Linked DNA regions of Homo sapiens: regions 2, 3, 4, 5 and 6 are each linked to region 1. The links are contacts of gene promoters, found by promoter capture Hi-C in blood cells and fetal thymus (Javierre and others, 2016). All regions are on one chromosome and are shown on one strand. The core of a region is centred on a gene start or on the middle of the fragment in contact, and the rest is flanking DNA. Distances in the headings are between cores, read along the strand shown. Region 1 holds the start of TFAP2B (transcription factor AP-2 beta). Region 2 overlaps PKHD1 (PKHD1 ciliary IPT domain containing fibrocystin/polyductin). Region 3 overlaps PKHD1 (PKHD1 ciliary IPT domain containing fibrocystin/polyductin). Region 4 has its middle 560 kb from the start of PKHD1. Region 5 has its middle 550 kb from the start of TFAP2B. Region 6 has its middle 530 kb from the start of TFAP2B.

Evidence for each region. The method cuts DNA at HindIII sites, captures the fragments that hold promoters and counts their contacts. A CHiCAGO score of 5 or more calls a contact.
Region 2: a contact is called between a fragment that was not itself captured here and the fragment with the promoter of TFAP2B in region 1, in 4 of 17 cell types (M2 macrophages, monocytes, M0 macrophages and 1 more). The highest score is 14.9, in M2 macrophages.
Region 3: a contact is called between a fragment that was not itself captured here and the fragment with the promoter of TFAP2B in region 1, in 1 of 17 cell types (monocytes). The highest score is 6.7, in monocytes.
Region 4: a fragment that was not itself captured here is called in contact with the fragment with the promoter of TFAP2B in region 1 in 3 of 17 cell types (M1 macrophages, monocytes and M0 macrophages); the score reaches 6.3 in M1 macrophages.
Region 5: a fragment that was not itself captured here is called in contact with the fragment with the promoter of TFAP2B in region 1 in 2 of 17 cell types (erythroblasts and M0 macrophages); the score reaches 5.9 in erythroblasts.
Region 6: a contact is called between a fragment that was not itself captured here and the fragment with the promoter of TFAP2B in region 1, in 8 of 17 cell types (megakaryocytes, M0 macrophages, erythroblasts and 5 more). The highest score is 17.1, in megakaryocytes.

The regions. Positions count from the first base shown.
Region 1 is chr6:50,817,306-50,820,418 of GRCh38, forward strand. It overlaps TFAP2B (transcription factor AP-2 beta), which reads left to right and starts at 1,566. Exons shown (of 7, transcript NM_003221.4): 1 at 1,566-1,667. The coding sequence starts at 1,587. LOC124901490 (a long non-coding RNA gene) reads right to left here and starts at 1,721. Exons shown (of 2, transcript XR_007059923.1): 1 at 1,597-1,721; 2 at 1-339. The HindIII fragment of the contact is 1,562 bases long and covers 68-1,629 here.
Region 2 is chr6:51,758,532-51,761,644 of GRCh38, forward strand. The region is part of intron 55 of PKHD1 (PKHD1 ciliary IPT domain containing fibrocystin/polyductin); the gene reads right to left. Among named protein-coding and RNA genes, the nearest start is that of PKHD1, 330 kb to the right of the region's middle. The HindIII fragment of the contact is 5,157 bases long and covers 1-3,113 here.
Region 3 is chr6:51,731,389-51,734,501 of GRCh38, forward strand. The region is part of intron 60 of PKHD1 (PKHD1 ciliary IPT domain containing fibrocystin/polyductin); the gene reads right to left. Among named protein-coding and RNA genes, the nearest start is that of PKHD1, 350 kb to the right of the region's middle. The HindIII fragment of the contact is 2,310 bases long and covers 438-2,747 here.
Region 4 is chr6:51,523,783-51,526,895 of GRCh38, forward strand. No RefSeq gene overlaps it. Among named protein-coding and RNA genes, the nearest start is that of PKHD1, 560 kb to the right of the region's middle. The HindIII fragment of the contact is 3,898 bases long and covers 1-3,113 here.
Region 5 is chr6:51,367,480-51,370,592 of GRCh38, forward strand. No RefSeq gene overlaps it. Among named protein-coding and RNA genes, the nearest start is that of TFAP2B, 550 kb to the left of the region's middle. The HindIII fragment of the contact is 5,423 bases long and covers 1-3,113 here.
Region 6 is chr6:51,348,029-51,351,141 of GRCh38, forward strand. No RefSeq gene overlaps it. Among named protein-coding and RNA genes, the nearest start is that of TFAP2B, 530 kb to the left of the region's middle. The HindIII fragment of the contact is 1,749 bases long and covers 650-2,398 here.

The sequences.
Region 1 (3,113 bases), core at 316-2,815:
TTTCCTTTGACTTATCTTTAAAAATTAAATTAAAAATCTGCAGAATTGTTTATTCTGCAGTTCATGAAGCTTCTCCTTGGTTTTGATTGAATCGACGTCCAACAAGGTTGTCCGGAGCCCTGTACTCAAACAGCGTCCATCCCTGTTCGCGCAGAGCTGCACACAGCAGTCCTGGATTTAAAGACAATCACCCTTTGCAGATTCACTCTCACCAGGCTTAATAACTTCCACCCCAAATTGCCCCATCCCTCCTCGGTCCCTCCTGGCATTTCTTTTCTGTCCCAGGCGCAGAGATCCTCTTCTGGGCGTCTGTTCCGGCTATGAGAAGCTCTCCGCACCCTGAAAGGGAGTAGAAAAACAGAGGGGATGGGAAAGGGGGAACAGGGGAACAGATGAGTATTCATTTCATGATAAAATTCAGAATCCCTGCGCCTTAAATGGTGCCCATTTTCTAAGTCTGGTTAATATTGTTCTTGTTGCTGATGATGTTTTCCTTTTTAAAAACTATATGAATCATCTTATTAAGAAAAATTATACAAAAAAAAGAAGAAACTCCACATGCACTAAAATATTTTTCACTATCTCTTTGAAGACATTCTGCTTAAACCTTTTCAAAGATTCGGGTGGCCCTTTCTTGACTCTCCATGATTAAAACCACTTACAAGTCATACACAACAGATGCAAATATAAAATGTCCTTGGCCTCTGCAAAAAAGGCTCAAAATTAACCTTGTCTGAACGTGTGCGTACGTTGCTTCCAACATCTGAAAAAAACTTGATAAAATGGAGACTCCAGCCAAGAGGAATGGTGCATGGAATCCGTTGAAAATGCATACAAACAACACCTAAAATAACAAGCAGCACAAACTGAGGTGTATTTAAGTTTCCAAAGGTTTTAGGTAAAATGACCAGAAAATATTAGAAATGGTCATCAACGGTGGCTAGCTTTTTTGTTCTATGGTGACAGAGATAAAGTTAAAAAAAAAAAAGTTGTGTAGCCATCAACACAGAGATAGTCCTTAAAATCCCCCATATCCAGCCTTTCAAAATACTCTCTTCCGGAACATACATGAATAGGAGGGAGCTTTTGTGTTTAAAAATCTTGGTAAGTGTCCCCCTTTAAAATCTACATAGAAAATAGGGGACTGATGGCCCCTGGTTTCTCATTATGAATTGCAAAGACTTCAGTTAGTGGCTACAATGATGTGTCATTTTCGATATAGAAGTTATAAAATGTATATATTATATTAATCACCCTGAACAACTCTTTGTTAAATGCACATTTGGAGTCTGCAGACTGTGTGACCCAGAGGTGCTTATATAACTATATGTGGGTGTCTGGGTGTAAATACGGGTTTATGATTTTTATAGTATATATGTCTGTGGGTTGCATCTAACTCCTGTGTGTGCAATAATGTTTTTTCTCTTTGCTGAGGCTTACTTGTCCAGCCTATTGTTTGAGACAACAGATATAAGTTGCGATGGGAGAGGAGCGTCGGATTTGGTGTGTATCCCCCATTTCCAATTATAGATGGATCATTACAGACAGCGGAGTCCTGAGAAGCCAGACATCTGCTCCTCACATGAATGCACTCACCTCCTAGAGACCAGGCTGCCATCATGCTCTGGAAGCTTGTGGAGAATGTCAAGTACGAAGATATCTATGAGGTGAGTCGACACCCCCAGATGCACCTTAGAGCTTTGCAGATAGAGAATTTGAGCTTCTTGATACCCCAAATGATATATATTTTTAAGCTATTTACTCGTAGATTTCCGGTCGGTTTTCTCAGCTTTTTTTAACTTTTAGAAAAGCTGGCTAGGGAAGACTTCGCTGCTCTGAAAAGGGACTTTAAGGCTGAAATCTGACAACTTTAATTTAGGAATGTTTTTATTTATTTTATTTTTCTTTCCCTTTTCCTCGCCTCCCCCCACCCCACCCCACCCTTTTAAGCTCTGATGGGGAATGTGGTGCTACTGAATGTGGGCACGCTCTCAGAGAAAATCGAGATTCTGATAAAGTCAGGGGCTTTTCTCGTTTTAAGTGTGGAAGAGAATTGGGTTTTCAAGCCTCATTTGTAACAGACTCGGGCTTTTAATTTTTATTTTCAATAAAATTTCTGAAATTGATAACAAATGGTTCCAAGTAGAGGACAGAGAATTAGCGGGAAAGAAGTAGATGGCTGGAGATATGGATGGATAGAGCAAAATAGAAGTCGTAGCAGTTTATTAGTTTCTGTTTTCTTGTGTTTTGCTTCCTTGAGGGTCACTGCGTCCGAACAGAAATCGCAGCCGCCTCCTGTGTGGGCATCTTTCACGGAAATTTCTGCCCACGTTCAATGCGTACGGGTCTCTAGCACTGAGGCTAGCTCAACTCTTCGGGGCAGGAGAAGTTGCGCCCAGCCAGGAGGACGCCAGCCGCCTCCGGGGCCCGGACCGCGCTCGCCAAAGCCCTTTTCCGGCTCGGGCGAGGGCTGACGCGGCCAGACGGCTCCGCTACTCGCGGGCGAGGCGGACTAGGCGGACGAGGCGGCCGAGGCGGGCGAGGTGGGAGAGGCGGGCGAGGTGGGAGAGGCGGCCGAGGCGGGCGAGGCGCGGGGCGCGCGGCGGGCCAGGCTGGGGACCGGGAAGCCCGCGGAGCCTCGCTTTTAAGCGGAATGGTCTGGGACAGCCCCAGGTGGTTGCCAGGGGAAGGGAGGAAGGGAAGGTTCTGCTGAGACGTCGAGGTTGGAAATAAAAACTTCGGAAAGGCGAAGCGGATTTAGAAAAGGAGGGAAGTCGAGGCGGGCGAAGCGGGCCATGGAGATTGCTAAGAGGAAAAGTTGGAGAGAAAAGGAAGGAAGAGAAGCAGACTCCCGGGTGGCGGGCGCGGGCCGCTAGGTCAGACGAAAGGTGGAGGGATGCAGAGGCTCCCCAAAGAGCCGAGAAAGACACGCGACCCCTCCGGATCGGGACAGCTCCTGAAAGCCCGGCGCAGAGCCGCCTCGAAGATCCTAAGAGTGGGCGACTCACAGGCGCGGCCGGCAAGCTCCTGGGGGACTCGGGCTCGGACGAGCGCCCACAGGCAGCGCCTGGCGCCCACACCTCCTGCCCCCCCCCGAATCCTAATGTTGGGGT
Region 2 (3,113 bases), core at 201-2,700, 940 kb after region 1:
GTATGACTCCTAGATCTTCAGGGAAGAGGGGAGACTTGCTTGTTGTTATGAGCAAAACATACCTCAAATAATAAATAAACAAAAAATTAAAAGACTTTTTTTCAACATAATTGTACCTAAATGGAAACCATATGAGAAGAGAGAGGAAATTATGAATAATCACTGTGGAAGTCTTTTTAAAGATAACTCTAAGAAAATATAAACAAAATATCAGTACAGTTTCTTTATTTTGGCATAACTTTTGACCTAGTTCAGAGAAAAATAATATTTACTAGACAAAAATATAATACTTATTATTTACAGAGAATTTAAAAATGCTTCAAAATTTGATTTAAAAGTTTTTACAAAAATGTGTAAGACATTCACGTGTAAACACCTACAACTTAAATGAATTTGTTAACTTAATACTTGTAAGATCTTAATGATAATAACTGCATTTGACCACAGGCTCAGAGTGTACATATCACAAAACATGCCCTGTCTCACCTGCACCTCCAGGAATAGGGATGGCCACAGATTTCTGAACTCTACTAATATTTAGTCTTTTTCATTTTGTAACTTCAGTTTAAAATTTTTCTATCAGTGCCATTAAAATGTAATGAGGATTCTCAGACTGTATTATTCTACACTTGATAGAGAAGAAATTGAATTCTATAATGATGCTGGTAAAGATGGTGAGTGACAACAATTATAGCTATAGTCAATACCAATTATTTGTCTACCTGACTTCCTCTCTGCTTCATTCCAGGAAATCCCTCACACCTCATCTGAGAACTGCTCCCATCCACTATACTGAAATCTGTGAGAGCTGCAGGTTAAAGTCCCACAAACCCTTCACCAAAGGCTGGGCATAGGATCCAACCTGCATTCATTCACCAAAATCTTTCCCCTGGAATTTTGAATGAAACTGAGGGGAATTAGTAGTAACCTCCTCACTGGTGGTATAGCTAGGAAAAGCCAAACAGATCTGAGTTCACTTGCACCATACAGAATGAAGAAAACTATTCTCCAGTAGAAAAAAAAGAGGTTGAAATAAAGAAGTAAAAAAGTAGAGGAGGAGAGGAAGGGCTTGATACAGTCTTCAAAATGGCTTAAGAAGGGTTACTTTTACTTGTACTTTCGACTTAAAGAGCCCCGATTGCCACAATAGCTGCCCTGTCTTAAGGCTTACACTGTGCCAGAAACTGGGCTTAACACCTCATGTGCATTAACTCCCTCAATCCTTATAACTATTCTATTAGCAATGTATTGTTACTCACATAATTAAAGAAAATAAAACTGAGGCTCAGAGAGAGTAATTTACTCAGAGTTACACCTTTAGCTAACCACCTAACTAGAATTAGTCTGCCTGCCCTCAAAGTTCAAACTCCTTTTCATTGCAGAATATATTTCCAACCTACCTTCCAAACATATGCCTTTCACCAGCATCATAATAGTAGTGAATTTGGCAATAGAACCCAATAGTTTATTGGACCTCTAACATATGAAAAAAAATCATCATCTTTTAGAGGTTACATATGTGATCCTGAACTCTTGCCAATGAGTGCATAAGGCCACCAACTCTATATTCTAATACTTAAACTAAGTTGTTATAATAATAAAGTTTGAGGAATGAGCAAAATAAATTATAGTAGTATTTGAAATTAAATTCAAGATTCTCTCATTTGTTAGATAATATGCCATTGAACCAAGAAGCTCAATAAGTTCTGATTTCTAGAAAATACACATCAAGTCAATGTAGCATGCATTTATTGGAGCCCTTCTTTATGTTCTGCTGTGCACTAGACACTAATATACCAAATCAACAATAACAAAAATATATCTCTCCCCTATAGAAGCCACTTGGAGGAACAGGACACACAAATGTTAAACATCTTAGTGTTATGCTTTTCTTAAAATTACAAATCATAAAATCACATCTTACGTTCAGATGATGGGAAAATTTGTAGAGTCGGAGATACCTAAAGTCCTGTGTCTGATGTAATGGAATCTTTAAGGATAAATAGGAAGTTATACAGTCAAGGAGGAGATGCAAGAATACTGCATCTGATACTCTTATTTCATTTATTAGGTACTTAAGGAGCCAGTACAAAAGTTGTTGTAGAGAGCCATGGGTGAAGTGCTGCAATGAGAATGTAGCAGATAGGAAAGAAAAAAGAAACATTCCAAACAAAATATATACAAAGAACACATCATTAATTTAACATAGGAGATAAAGGAATAGATATAATCAATTATGACATTCAATTTAAAGGTTTAGGGCCTGGAGAAAAGGATGAGGTAACAAATGACTTGATTTCTTATTCAGTTCACAGTTTCTTCCTTGTAAATAACAGAGTATGTTAATAAATCACTTCAGACACCTCATACCTGTCAAAATTACCAAAACAGTGAAAGATAACAAAGGTTAGTGAGGATGGAAAGAGAAGAGAACCCTTGCATACTGTTAGTAGAAATGTAAATTAGTACAACCGTTATAGAAAAGAGTTTGGAGGGTCCTCAATAATTAAAAATAGAATATGATCCAGCAATCCATCTTCTAGATATATATTCCAAGGATATGAAATCAGTATGTCTGAGATATTTGCACTCCCATGTTCACAGCAACATTATTCGCAAGAGCCAAAATATAGAGTCAATCTAGGTGCCCATCGACAAATGAATGGATAAAGAAAATGCAGTATACACATACACTCTGGAATACTATTCAGCCTTTAAAAAGAAGAAAATCTGGTCATTAGCATCAACATAGATGAACCTGGAAGACACTACGTTAAGTGAAATGATCCAGGCCCAAGAAGACAAATACCACATGATCTCACTTGCATGCAGAATCAAAAAGAGTGGAATTCACTGGACTAGAGAGTAGAATGCAGGTTACCAGAGGCTGCTGGTTTGGCTGGTGGTGGGGGGAAGCAAAGGTTGAAGAAATGTTGATAAAAGAATACAAAATCTCAGTTAGATAGGAAGAATAAATTCAAGAGATCTATTGTGCAACATAGTGACTACAGTTATTAATATATTGTATTCTTTAAAAATGCTGAGTGTGGATGTGAAGTATCCTTACCACAAAAAAAGATAACTATATGAGATAATACATATGTTAATTATGT
Region 3 (3,113 bases), core at 343-2,842, 910 kb after region 1:
AGAAATGTGAATAGATTTCTCATAAAGGATTGTTAACTTGAGTAGTAAAATTCTCAGTCTCAGAAAATCTTGATGCTTTGGTTGGAGGCTTGAGTATTTAAATAATACCTCCTGCAAATGGCAGGTAATCCAAGTCTAGACAAGCTTTGTTTTTTAATTGACTGAATTATATGCCCAGGATCAATTAGGTGCTCTCTAGATTGGTTTCTAATTCTGTGATTCATTTCTAATCCTAGGAACCCAGGCTACATCTGATGACCACTGACTTATAAAAGGGTAATTTACCAGGGATAAATAGAGTCTACTACATGGCTTAAAAAATCAATTCTCTTTAATGTGTATCCCTCAGAACAAAGGAAGAAAAATATCCATATGATGAATGCAGCTACATGTAGCTATTTAGTCTTTGAAATGTGACTAGTGCACCCAAGGAGCTAAGCTTCAAATTATGTATAATTTTAATTAATTATAATTTAAAATGTAAAACTGATAACAATTATTGGAAAATGTTTAGGTATATTTTAAACAATGTTTATATGTGATTCTACTTTTTCAGTTGCAAAGTTTATAAAATATAGGCAAAGATCAAATACTTTTGATAAAAACACTTTATAAATTGACATGGCATAACAGTAAAAAGCACAACAGATTTTAAACACATAGTATAAGAAACATAATGCAAAATATCTCAACTACACTGATTACATATTAAAATGATGATTTTTAAATATATTGAGCTGTTTCTTTTTACTGCTTTTAGCCTGGATGCTAAGATACTAAGTCACACTGGTGCATTATATTTCTTTTGAACAATACTGTTCTGGATGGTTAATATTCAGTTCTTATTCCTAGATTTAGAAAAAAATCACTGAAAACTGAAGATCATCAAAAATATGCCAGTCCTTCATAAAAATATCAAAAATTTGTGGATCAAAAAACTCTATCAACAGAGTGAAAAGGAAACCTGAAGTATGGGGGGAAATATTTGCAAATCATATGTCTAGTAAAGGATTAATATCCACAACATAAACCACAACTCCTAAGATTCAACAATAACAAAAAAACCCAAACAGCCCAATTCAAAAATTAATATGGGACTTGAATAGACATTTCTCCAAAAAAGATATTCAAATTAACAATGACTCCATGAAAAGATGTTCAACACTACTAATCACTTGGGAAATGCAAATCAAAATTACAACGACATATCACCTCACACCCATTAAAATGGTTACTATCAAAGTAGAAAATTTCAAGTGTCAACAAGGATGTGGAGAAACCATTGTGTACTGTTGGTGGGAATGTAAAATGGTACAGTTATTGTGGGAAACAACATTATGGTTCCACAAAAGGTTGAAAATAGAACTATCACATGACCTTGCTATTTCACTTCTGGATCTATACCCAATAGAATTGAAAGTAGAGTCTCTAAGAGATATTTGTATACCATATTCATAGTAGCATTATTTACAATAGCTAAAACATGGAAGCATTCCAGGTGTCCATGGGTGGATGAATGGATAAGCAAAATGTGGTAAGTTCATGCAATGGAATGAAATTCCATAATATGCTACAACATGGATGAACCCTGAGAACATTATGCTAAAAGAAATAAGCCAGTACCAAAAGGTATTGTATGATTCTACTTATATGAGGTACTTAAGGGTAGTCAAAATCATAGACCCAGAGAGTGGAATGTTGGTTTTCAGGAACACGGGGTAGGGAAGAATGGGAAGTTACTGTTTAATGACATTAGAGTTTCAGTTTTAAGAGTTGAAAAGACTTATGGAGAAGTATGGTAGTGATGGTTGCACAATACTATGAATGTATTTAATACCACTGAACTGTACACTTAAAAATGGTTAAGATGGGCCAGGCACAGTGACTCACACCTGTAATCCCAGTACTTTGGGAGAACGAGATGGGCGGATCACAAGGTCAGGAGACCTAGATCATCCTGGCTAACACAGTGAAACCCTGTCTCTACTAAAAATACAAAAAATTAGCCGGGCGTGGTGGTGGGAGCCTGTAGTCCCAGCTACTGAGGCTGAGGCAGGAGAATGGTGTGAACCCAGGAGGCGGAGCTTGCAGTGAGCTGAGATCACACCACTGCACTCCAGCCTGAGGACAGAGGGAGACTCCCTCTCAAAAAAAAAAAAAAATGGTTAAGATGGTAAATTTTATATTATATGTATTTTACCACAATAAAAACATAAGCCAGTCTAAAAAGTGAAGAACTAAAAAAATGTCATATATTGGCTGATAGAAGGAATTTAGAATTCCTATGCTTGAAAAAGTCTTATTTGGCTTATTATAAAATCATTGTCTTACTGTCTTTGAATATGTAAAATGCTGTAATACAGAAAGACTTATATGAAACCTGGAAAGACTTATACTCTGTCATGCCAAAAGGCAAACTAGGTCACTGGGTAGAAGTCATAGAAGGAAGAGCCTAACAATAACAAGTTATTCAAAATATAATATAGGCAGCCTTAAAAGGGTGTGAACTCCCACTTCCTGGGAAAATGAAAGGTAAAGGGCACGTATGCATGTGAAGTGAAGCTGATTGATCTTCAAGGGACCATCCAAATCAAAGGCACTACAATCTTGTCATTTCTTTCCAAGTAGCATGTATTCCTGTAGACTAATAGATTAACATGAGGCAATATTTCCCAGAATGTGTTCTGAAGTACACTAGTTCCAAGGGACCCTAATGTGTAGTATGAACAGGTATTCTCTAGTCAAAAAGCTTGGGAAACACCGGGTAACACAAAATTAAACAGTGTTTTTAAAAATTTAATTGCAGAACTTATCAGAATCTTCAGTATTTTAATACACATGGTGGTCTCCAAAATAGGAATAGTCAGAGTTTTCAAAATTTATTTGGCCATGTACCACATTTTTTACAATCTCCTGAAATTAGAAAATGGGGGAATATTCTTTGAAAATGCTAAAACAAATTATGCATTAATTAAATCTATAAAATTTACTTTGTGGAAGAGTTGACTGGCAAACTAAACTTAAATTCTTGACTTTCTTATTCACATTTGTTCCCTCATTCAGCAAACATTAACAAAGCCTATATTATGTTCCATAAATTGTACTAGAAATTC
Region 4 (3,113 bases), core at 330-2,829, 710 kb after region 1:
CCACTCTTTCATAAAATATGTGCAGAGAATATACCATGTGCATGGAACTGTGAGAGTTAATGTGAGATACTAAAACCACTGGTTTGTTGGAATTTGCTAGAGAGAGAAAGCATAATTTCTTCTTTTGCAGAAGTTATTAGATATCCAGTGTATATCTTATTTTTAAAGGGAGGGAAGGGTACTTACAGTTATCAAAAAACTACCATGAGTTAGCCATGATGGTAGGTCCTTTATATACACCCGATCCTCACTTCAATCTTTTGAAATTCATATTATTTTTCCATTTTCATGTATTATGTACAAATAAAACGAAAGCTCAAGAAATTAAGATGGCAGTTCCACGTTCACACAGCTAGGGAGGTGAGCAGGCTGGCTCCAAAAGCCCATTTTCCTTTCACTAACCTAGTCTCCTCTTCATTACAGTATATCAGAGGATAGATAAGAATAATTGTTGGGAAGAGCCAATGAGGAAGTAATGACTTCGAACCCTAATCCACAAAACCTGTGATTGTTAGAGATAACCTATAGGAAAGTACAGAATGCATGTATTAGAATGGAGCATTGTATCTGAATTATCTTCCCAGTCCAAATTCAAAGGATAGGTGTTGGGGATTGCCTGAAAGATAGATAATCATATTAGAGAGGAATGGAAAGCGATGAGATGAGAAAATTGTGATTAAGTTTAGGAAAACAATTGGATGTTTAGACTTAGGAAGACTTGGGGGTTTATCCACAGAACATTATCAAACACAGCACATACTCTCTAGAACATTCCAGCCAGGGACAAAAATGAAGCCATAGTAATTTTATCTCTTTGGTTATCATATGCATTTGATACAAGGGAAAAACAGCTCCACTGTTTCTGGAAGGTGCATTGAGATATCTTACCCTTATTATCAGAAGCCCTCTTTAAGAACTTTCAGTCTCCATTGATTCCAAGGGATCCACCCTCCCTGAAGCCTCATCAAGTTGCCTCCCCTCAACTCCCTGTGCACTCCCTCATAGCCAGGCTGCTTTCTGAGACTCTCAGGTGGAGCCTCGAGAACAACTCGCAACTCAACCCAGCAATAGGGCAGTGAGTCTAGCCCTCAATTCCTGAAGCCACCGTGTCCAGGGGCTGAGAGACTCCTAAGAAAAGTATCCAGCTGTGCCCAAGATTGTACCCTGAACTTCTTTAGTTTGTCTTTGACAAACAATTACACGTGTTTTGGGGGACCCTAAGTGTCATGTTGAACACAAATATCAAAGCAGATTTCAGAACCCTGAAAATCAACAGTGACTAGGCATGTGGTGTTTGTCTCTATAATGGTAGACATTAACTCCTCAAAGACAGGGCCCATGTCTTCTCTGTCTTTGTCTGCCCATGACCCAGCACCTGATCACAATATGTGCCCAATTAATGTTGAGCAGAAATTAAGTACAAGAATGTTTCCCAAGACACTTTCTCTGAAGCCTGCATTGCTTGTCAGTAGTCAACACTGTACACCTCTACTTAACAATAATATTCCTCTTGTTGATTTTCCTAGTCATGAGTAGGATCTCCTTTTCATCATTTGGTAGTTGACTTTCCAAAGACCCACTCTAGTAAGGATAGCATTTGGAACTCAGAGTATGCTCTGGGAACATTTCACTCATGGCACCATGAGGAGCTAATGCAATTCAGAATGAGAAAGAGAAGGGGAGCTGCATGTGTATGCAGAGTCCATATTCCCAAAATTCTTCATCCCAAGGCCAGCCAAGTCAGGTGAAGACAAAAGTGGAGAGGGGACACGATATATTACACATAATGGTTTTGTCAAAGCTCTAAGAGAAAAGACTGTCTAATAGAGAAACCAACAGTCAGTAACTCTGGGGAAAGACTTATTAGACTCCTGGACAAAACACCTTCCATAGGATAACATTGCAACTCTTCCTTTTTTGTAAACAATAATTGGTTATAACAGAAAACTACAAGTTCTGACATCTGAACGTAGGGCTTGACTCACTGGTGCAGGTCAGCTGCAATTGCCTACAGATTATACAAGGTGGCCACGAATAGCCCCACAAGTTATGCCTGGGACAACTATGGAAGGTGCCATTTTATTCTAATGTTTGCTATTGTTTCCCTGAGATACCAGATTCTTTTCAGAGCCCTAGGAAAGTGGGAATCCCCAATATTACATGAGTTAAAATTCTAACTGAGATCTCTGTTTTTAAACTAGCCTGGTTAATACTTGGCAGGTGACAGTGTTTGGATGCTGCCTTCTGAGAGTGAGTTTCCAAGAGCACCCCAGGCACACTCTACAGAAGTATTTGTGCTAAATTCACAATTGCTTTTTTTTTCTTTAGAGTCCAGTGTAGTTTACATCTGTTTGCCCCATGAGTCCACTCATAAAACAAGAATAGAATTAACAGTTTGTGAGGATTCTTAGGGACTTTATATGTTTGTGAAAATGAAACTAATTCAGCCTAACTCCAATATAAGTGCTGTTGCATGCCGCGCACAGCACCCTGAAACCCAGTGGGTTCTGCTAACTTGTTGACTGACTGATAAACAAGTTCCAGATTTCTAATTGGCCACAGCCTCCCTGGCTGCTCTGATGATATATCGCTTTGGGTGGAAGATTCAGCCTGTATCACTCAGAAATAAGCAAAATTGAACTAAACTAAAACAACTGTTTTGCATAGAAAAGAAAACATCTAATGTTTGAACCCCTACCAATACCTAACCCCCTCTTCTTTCTGGGTAACCCTGGGTCTGAGGCCCTTAGAAGATGCAACTAGACCTCTTAAGGACATGTGAATAGTGTGAACCCAGAGAAAGTACTCAGGAGCCACCTGTGGAGTCAGGGGAGGACAAATTCAGCTCAGTACAAAAGCAAGCAATCCAGTTCAATAAACACTTATCTAGCAACTTTGTGGCTAACTGTACAGTGGAAATGTGAAGACAAAAAGCACTCTTCGTGTTCAGAACCTCCCAGTCCAATGGGGTAATAGATAAATAATTATAGTACTATGTGATAAGTGCTATTTGAGAGGTTACATAAAGGGAAACGCCTTGGAGAGTCACCAAATACCTGGAGGAGTTTGGAATCAGGGAACCTTTCCTGAGCTGAGATTTGAAGAATGACTAG
Region 5 (3,113 bases), core at 357-2,856, 550 kb after region 1:
GGTACATGCATTGAGGCAAATCCCTCAGGCCTGTCTGGGGAGTGTGAGGCAATCTAGAATTCGAGGGGACCATTTGGCCCTGACATCAGGCCTCCTGGTCTGCTTTGGTGTTGCCTCGTTATTCTACTGAATCCTTCAAGAATTTGTAAAAACAGAAGCATTGTCTCCAAAGGAACACACACTAAAGTGTACATTATGCTACCTATGAGGGAAAGATGAATCCATTGTTTGTATATAAACGTGAGCTGATTTTCAGGATGATCCATGGTGTCTCATGCGTGGGAGCTTGGGAGTTGGGTAGAATCCTTGTCTGAGGGTTGGAGGCTCTCTTGAAGGAGGCACACAGAGACTACTGAGGGAGCTAAGCCTGGAATTGTGCAAGCCTTCATATGAAGGAAAAAGGAGAGTATTCCTTGTCTATTCTTGTAGACAAGGAATGGGGAGTCAGGGTTTGCCATTGTATGTTTAGAAAATAGAAAGAGGATGAATTAATAAAAGAGTCAGGGATGAGACCAGGCAAAAAGGAGCTTCCCAAAGAACTACTGAACCTCTTTTTCTATTTCCCAGTTTTACTTTTGTTCAGTCCTGTCTGTAAGGGCAGTATGGCCTCTTTGGTAATTTATGACTACAAGTGTGTTTCTTTATTTAATGTTTTTTAGTAAAAGGAGGTTGAGCGTTAAGAGATATGAACTCAAATACTATTTCTCTCTAACTTTGGGACTTTCCATTTGATCACTCCCTCAGCTTGCACCTTTTAAAATTATGATTAACATCTGCCCTATCTCAGTATTGAAAGGCAAAAAAATGTGAAGTGACTTTGAAAAGTATAAAGCGTTATATGGGTGTAAGAGTAAGTATGATTTCAAAATTTTCCTTCAAATTCTCTTAAGATTTTTGTAAGACTAGTTGATCACTATACACATATTCTATTTGTACAAAATTTGCTGTGTTGACTGCATATATGTGTACGTATGAACACAAACAAACATATGCACTTAGTTTCCTCTTTCTCCTTATTTTAAAAATCATTATTATCGTTTGATAGGAAAAAGACAGAAAAACATTTTATAAGAGTTTAAGCAACAGAAATATAGGAAAAGATAATATATGAAAATAAACTAGACAACGAACATTTTTATAAGTAACTTTAAAATCTAAAGCACTTATAAGTTATTTGCTTTTGAGGTTTTTTAAACGAACCATCTAAGAAAGTTAACTTTTTTCACTTAATTTCCTACAGTGGGTCTCCATAGGAAATAATTGGAACAATCTATGGAACACTTTTTTTCTGTAGCTTCTAAGCTCTTTTGTAAAGTCAGTAGCAAAACTGCCTCACCAACAAAATATGAATAACCATTTCCGTTTCACTCCTATAATCTGTTATTTACTCCAGAGTCAATGTATTATCAAATGTGGAATCAGCAGTTCTCTTATATGTAATTATAATGGCAATGATTTAACCCAGCTCATCTTATTTTCAAGCTGTCGACTCTCAGGGATATGGTACCGGTGTATGATGAGCATTTTAGAGTAGTTCCCTCAGAAATGAGAGACTCATGCAAAATATAATCGATGCAAGGAATTTTTCTTTTAAAAAGTTAAGACAAATAAAAACATGAACATGAACTTTAAAAAAGAATTTACTTAAAATATATAATCTAGTATAAATTTAATGTATGGGGTTGTGAAAATAATAATACACTTTTAGAGATGAAGTATTCAAACAAGAAAGCAAGGATGTAAAGAATGATAGGACAGATGGAGTAAGGAAAGTAGGCATTACAGAAATGTAGAAACTAGGCAAAGGCTGAGATACTCCTGTAGTGTAGAATGTAAGGCTAAGTGTGTATTTATGTATACTTGTATTGTATTGCATAATTAGGAGCTGGGACTCTCAATTAAATAGCACTGTGACCTGAGTAATAAGAGTGTTTATTTAACTGGTTAAGTTTATTGGATTTAAATATTCATGAACTGACACAACTTGATTATGACACCTTCTTTACAATTGTGATACAGAGTTATCTACACATACTTAAAGGATGGATGAATTATTCATGTCTGGGCAGCCCCACTGTTGAGTGTCTGGCTGCTTGATAGATATGAGTACTCCAGCCAGTTGGCCCAATACATAAACAGCATTTAAAGTCAACAGGACCCTTACCTGGTCCATGTGCTAATATTGCATGGCAGATACCTGCTGATGCAGCATTATTCTCCCTCATCAATTAGAATAGAAAACGTCTAATTCTTTGGGACATAAAAGATGCCCAAAAGAAACTTGGCATCCTTCTCTGCTATCCACAGGTACAATTTCCTGTTCAGAAAGGCAAGTGTTGGTAATTCATAATTCCTCTTCATGGTACTGATATTTTCCCATTCTCCCCTACTGGATCTTGGGGGTTAGAAGGTGACATTAAAACTTGTGTGTATCCTATACTTACCTTGCCTAACTGTGTACAGTCTTAGTTATTCAGAGGAAAGATAATCTGTTTCTAAATCCATCTCTGGACTAGAAAGTTAATGCATACTCTGCTAAAGCATATTTGTCAATTTATTACACTGTGGAAATTCAACCACTGCTTTAGGATATTAAAGGTAACACTATGCTCTGCTATCACTATTCAATATTGGGGATACTATGGTAAGAAGTTGGATGGTGTATTGCAGCTGGCCTTTAACATAAGATTTAGGTTCTGCTATTTAGTGTTTATTTATTTGGCAATTCACTTAATCTATCCAGGATTGTGGACTCAATAATATTCTCATTTCAAGGATATGGGAATTATAATAATACCTATATAATGAGTTCTCTTGGAAATCTATGAAGCATTAACAAATCTGCTTTATTAGCTCTGAAGCCTCACAAGGCAACAGAAATCATTCTAAAATGTCCCCAGATGGTCATGTTGCATCCTTTAGTGTGGAATATGTTAGTCAAGTTTTGCACATTACAGAAGTTTTCATGCATCACAAAATCAAAATGTTTATAGCTTCACTCCTCTTGTGTTATTTATTTTCAGAGGTTTCTTAGATCCATTCAGTTTTTTAACCATAATTTTAACAGCCTTCAAAAAACAAACATTAAAATATCATGTTCCATGATCAAGCTA
Region 6 (3,113 bases), core at 274-2,773, 530 kb after region 1:
TCTTCACGCTTTATTTCATTACGTTGATCTTCAATCTCTGATATCCTTTCCACTGCCTGATTGATTTGGCTACTGATACTTGTGTATGCTTCACGAAGTTCTAGTGCTGTTTCTCAGCTCCATCAGGTCATTTATGTTCTTCTCCAAACTGGTTATTCCAGTCAGCAATTCCTCTAACCTTTTATCAAGGTTCTTAGTTCCCTTGCATTGGGTTAAAACATGCTCCTTTAGCTTGGAGGAATTTGTTATTATCCACCTTCTGAAGCCTACTCCTGTCAATTCATCAAACTCATTCTCCATCCAGTTTTGTTCCCTTGCTGGCGAGGAATTCTGATCCTTTGGAGGATAAGAGGCATTCTGGTTTTTGGAATTTTCAGCCTTTTTGCATTGGTTCTTCCTCATCTTTGTGGATTTATCTACCTTTGGTCTTTGCTTTTGGTGACCTTTGGATGGAGTTTTTATGTGGTTGTCCTTTTTGTTTATGTTGATGCTTTTGCTTTCTGTTTGTTCATTTTGCTTTTAACAGTGAGACCCCTCTTCTGCAGGTCTGCTGGAGTTTGCTGGAGGTCCACTCCAGAACTTGTTTGCCTGGGTATCACCAGCTGAGGCTGCAGAACAGCAAAAATTGCTGCCCCCTCCTTCCTCTCGAAGCTTTGTCCCAGAGGGGCACCCACCAGATACCAGTTGGAGCTCTCCTGTATGAGGTGTCTGTCGACCCCTGCTGGGAAGTGTCTCCCAGTCAGGAGGCACGGGGGTCAGGGACCCACTTGAGGAGGCAGTCTGTCTCTTAGCAGAGCTTGAGTGCTGTGCTGGGAGGTCCACTGCTCTCTTCAGAGCTGTCAGGCAGGAACACTTATGTCTGCTGAAGCTGCACCTATTGCTGCCCCTTTCCCCAGGTGCTCTGTCCCAGGGAGATGGGAGTTTTATCTATAAGCCACTGACTGAGGCTGCTGCCCTTCTTTGAGAGATGGCCTGCCCTGAGAGAGGGAATCTAGAGAGGCAATCTGGCTACAGTGGCTTTGCTGTGCTGTGGTGGACTCTACCTAGTCCAAACTTCCTGGCAGCTTTGTTTACACTGTGAAGGGAAAACTGCCTACCTAAACCTCAGTAATGGCAGACACCCCTCCTCCCACCAAGCTGGAGCATCCAGGTCAACTTCAGACTGCTGTGCTGGCAGTGAGTACTTCAAGCCAGTGGATCTTAGCTTGCTGGGCTTCATGGCGTTGTGATCTGCTGAGCAAGACCGCTTGGCTTCCTGGCTTCAGCTCCCTTTCTGGGGGAGTGAATGGTTTTGTCTTGCTGGCATTCCAGGCGCCACTGGGGTATGAAAAAAAAACTCCTGCAGCTAGCTCAGTGTCTGCCCAAATGGCTGCCCAGTTTTGTGCTTGAAACCCAGGGCCCTGGTGGTGTAGGCACCCAAGGGAATCTCCTGGTCTATGGATTGTGAAGACTGTGGGAAAAGTGTAGTATATGGGCCAGAGTGCACCATACATCATGGCATAGTCCCTCATGGCTTCCCTTGGCTAGAGGAGGGAGTTCCCTGGCTCCTTGTGCTTCCCAGGTGAGGCAACACCTCACCCTGTTTCTGCTCGCTCTCTGTGGGCTGCACCCACTGCCTAACCAGTCCCAAAGAGATGAACCGGGTACTCAGTTGGAAATGCAGAAACCACCTGCCTTCTGCATTGGTCTTGCTGGGAGCTGCAGACTGGAGCTGTTCCTATTCGGCCATCTTGCCTGGGAATCTAACTGTCTTATATTATAGTTTGGGTTTCTCAGGGGCAAATGCCATGCACTTACTCATATCTTCAGGCTGTTTTTCTGCCTAAAACTTAGTAAGTTCAGAATTAACTGGAAAGCAAACACCTGCACAGTAGATATACTCTGCTGCGGGTGCTCATTCACCACCACCCTCTCTTTCCCTTATCCCTTGGAGACTTACCCTCTGCTAGGAAAATGTCAGTGACTTAGTCAATGGATTCAGTGTCTTCACAGAGCAGACTGAGGGGAGCCAAAGCAGGCTAAGGAAACAATGGTCGGCATTGTTTTTCCAAGTCTTTCTCCAATCCCTCCGCTGGCATGGAAACCTTCCAGGCCTCTCTCCAATCAGGGCCACACCCTCACCAGTGCTATGGAAATCCTTCTGCGCAGCACCAAGGTAATGAAACCAGTAAAAACAGTGTTCTTTTCCCATTGGCTAAGCTGGAATAATTCCTCACCCTTAGCAAATGGGCAAGTGGAAATTCTAGTAGGGAATTTAGAACACAGGTCTACACACTGGAAACCCTCAATGGAGTCTAAGGTTCTTTATATACATATACATTGTATACATAAAAGAGTAAAAGAAAAGAAATCAGCTGAATCCAGAGAGATTGTTTTATTTTGTTAGCATAATACCAAAAGCTTTTCTCACTTTTAAATTTGTGGTTTTCAAAGTCTTAAAAAGAATATGAATATCCTTGTGTGTGTCGTTGCCCTCTACTGGATAAGCTGGGTAATATTGTCACTAGTTGTCCAAACATATTAATAATATACTGAACAACATCTTATACTTGGCTAGCATTTTGTCTTTTTATTTTTCAAAATGATTATACATGTAGAATTTTAATTTACCCTTTTCATAATGCTATAAAATAACTAAGCTATTTTTATTCCCATTTTACAGATGAAAAACTGAGGCAGAGGTACATTATTCACTCAATATACATACTTTAATGAAGCTGTATATAAAGAACTACGCTAAGCCATTTACAAAGGTGAATAAGATGATCTATACTCTCTGGGAGCTTAATTTGTTACAGATAAGATATATACCCAAATATCTATAATGAAAATAAAATTGTGATATAGGAATAAATTAAACTAAGAATTATTGATTGTAGAAGGAGCTTATACATGTTACTTTAGCCTCACAGTAACTTTTTTGGTATATGTCATGTGCCTTGTTTTACAAATGACAAAATTGAGGTTGGATGTTTCTAAGTCATTGTTCAGATGCCCCACAGAGAACAATGCTATAGGAAAGGAGAAGAGGAAGAATTTACAACTGGTAAAAATCAAGAAAGGCGTCATAAAGGTGGTGGTGTTTGGCCTAGGGCTTAAAGGATGGGCAGGGG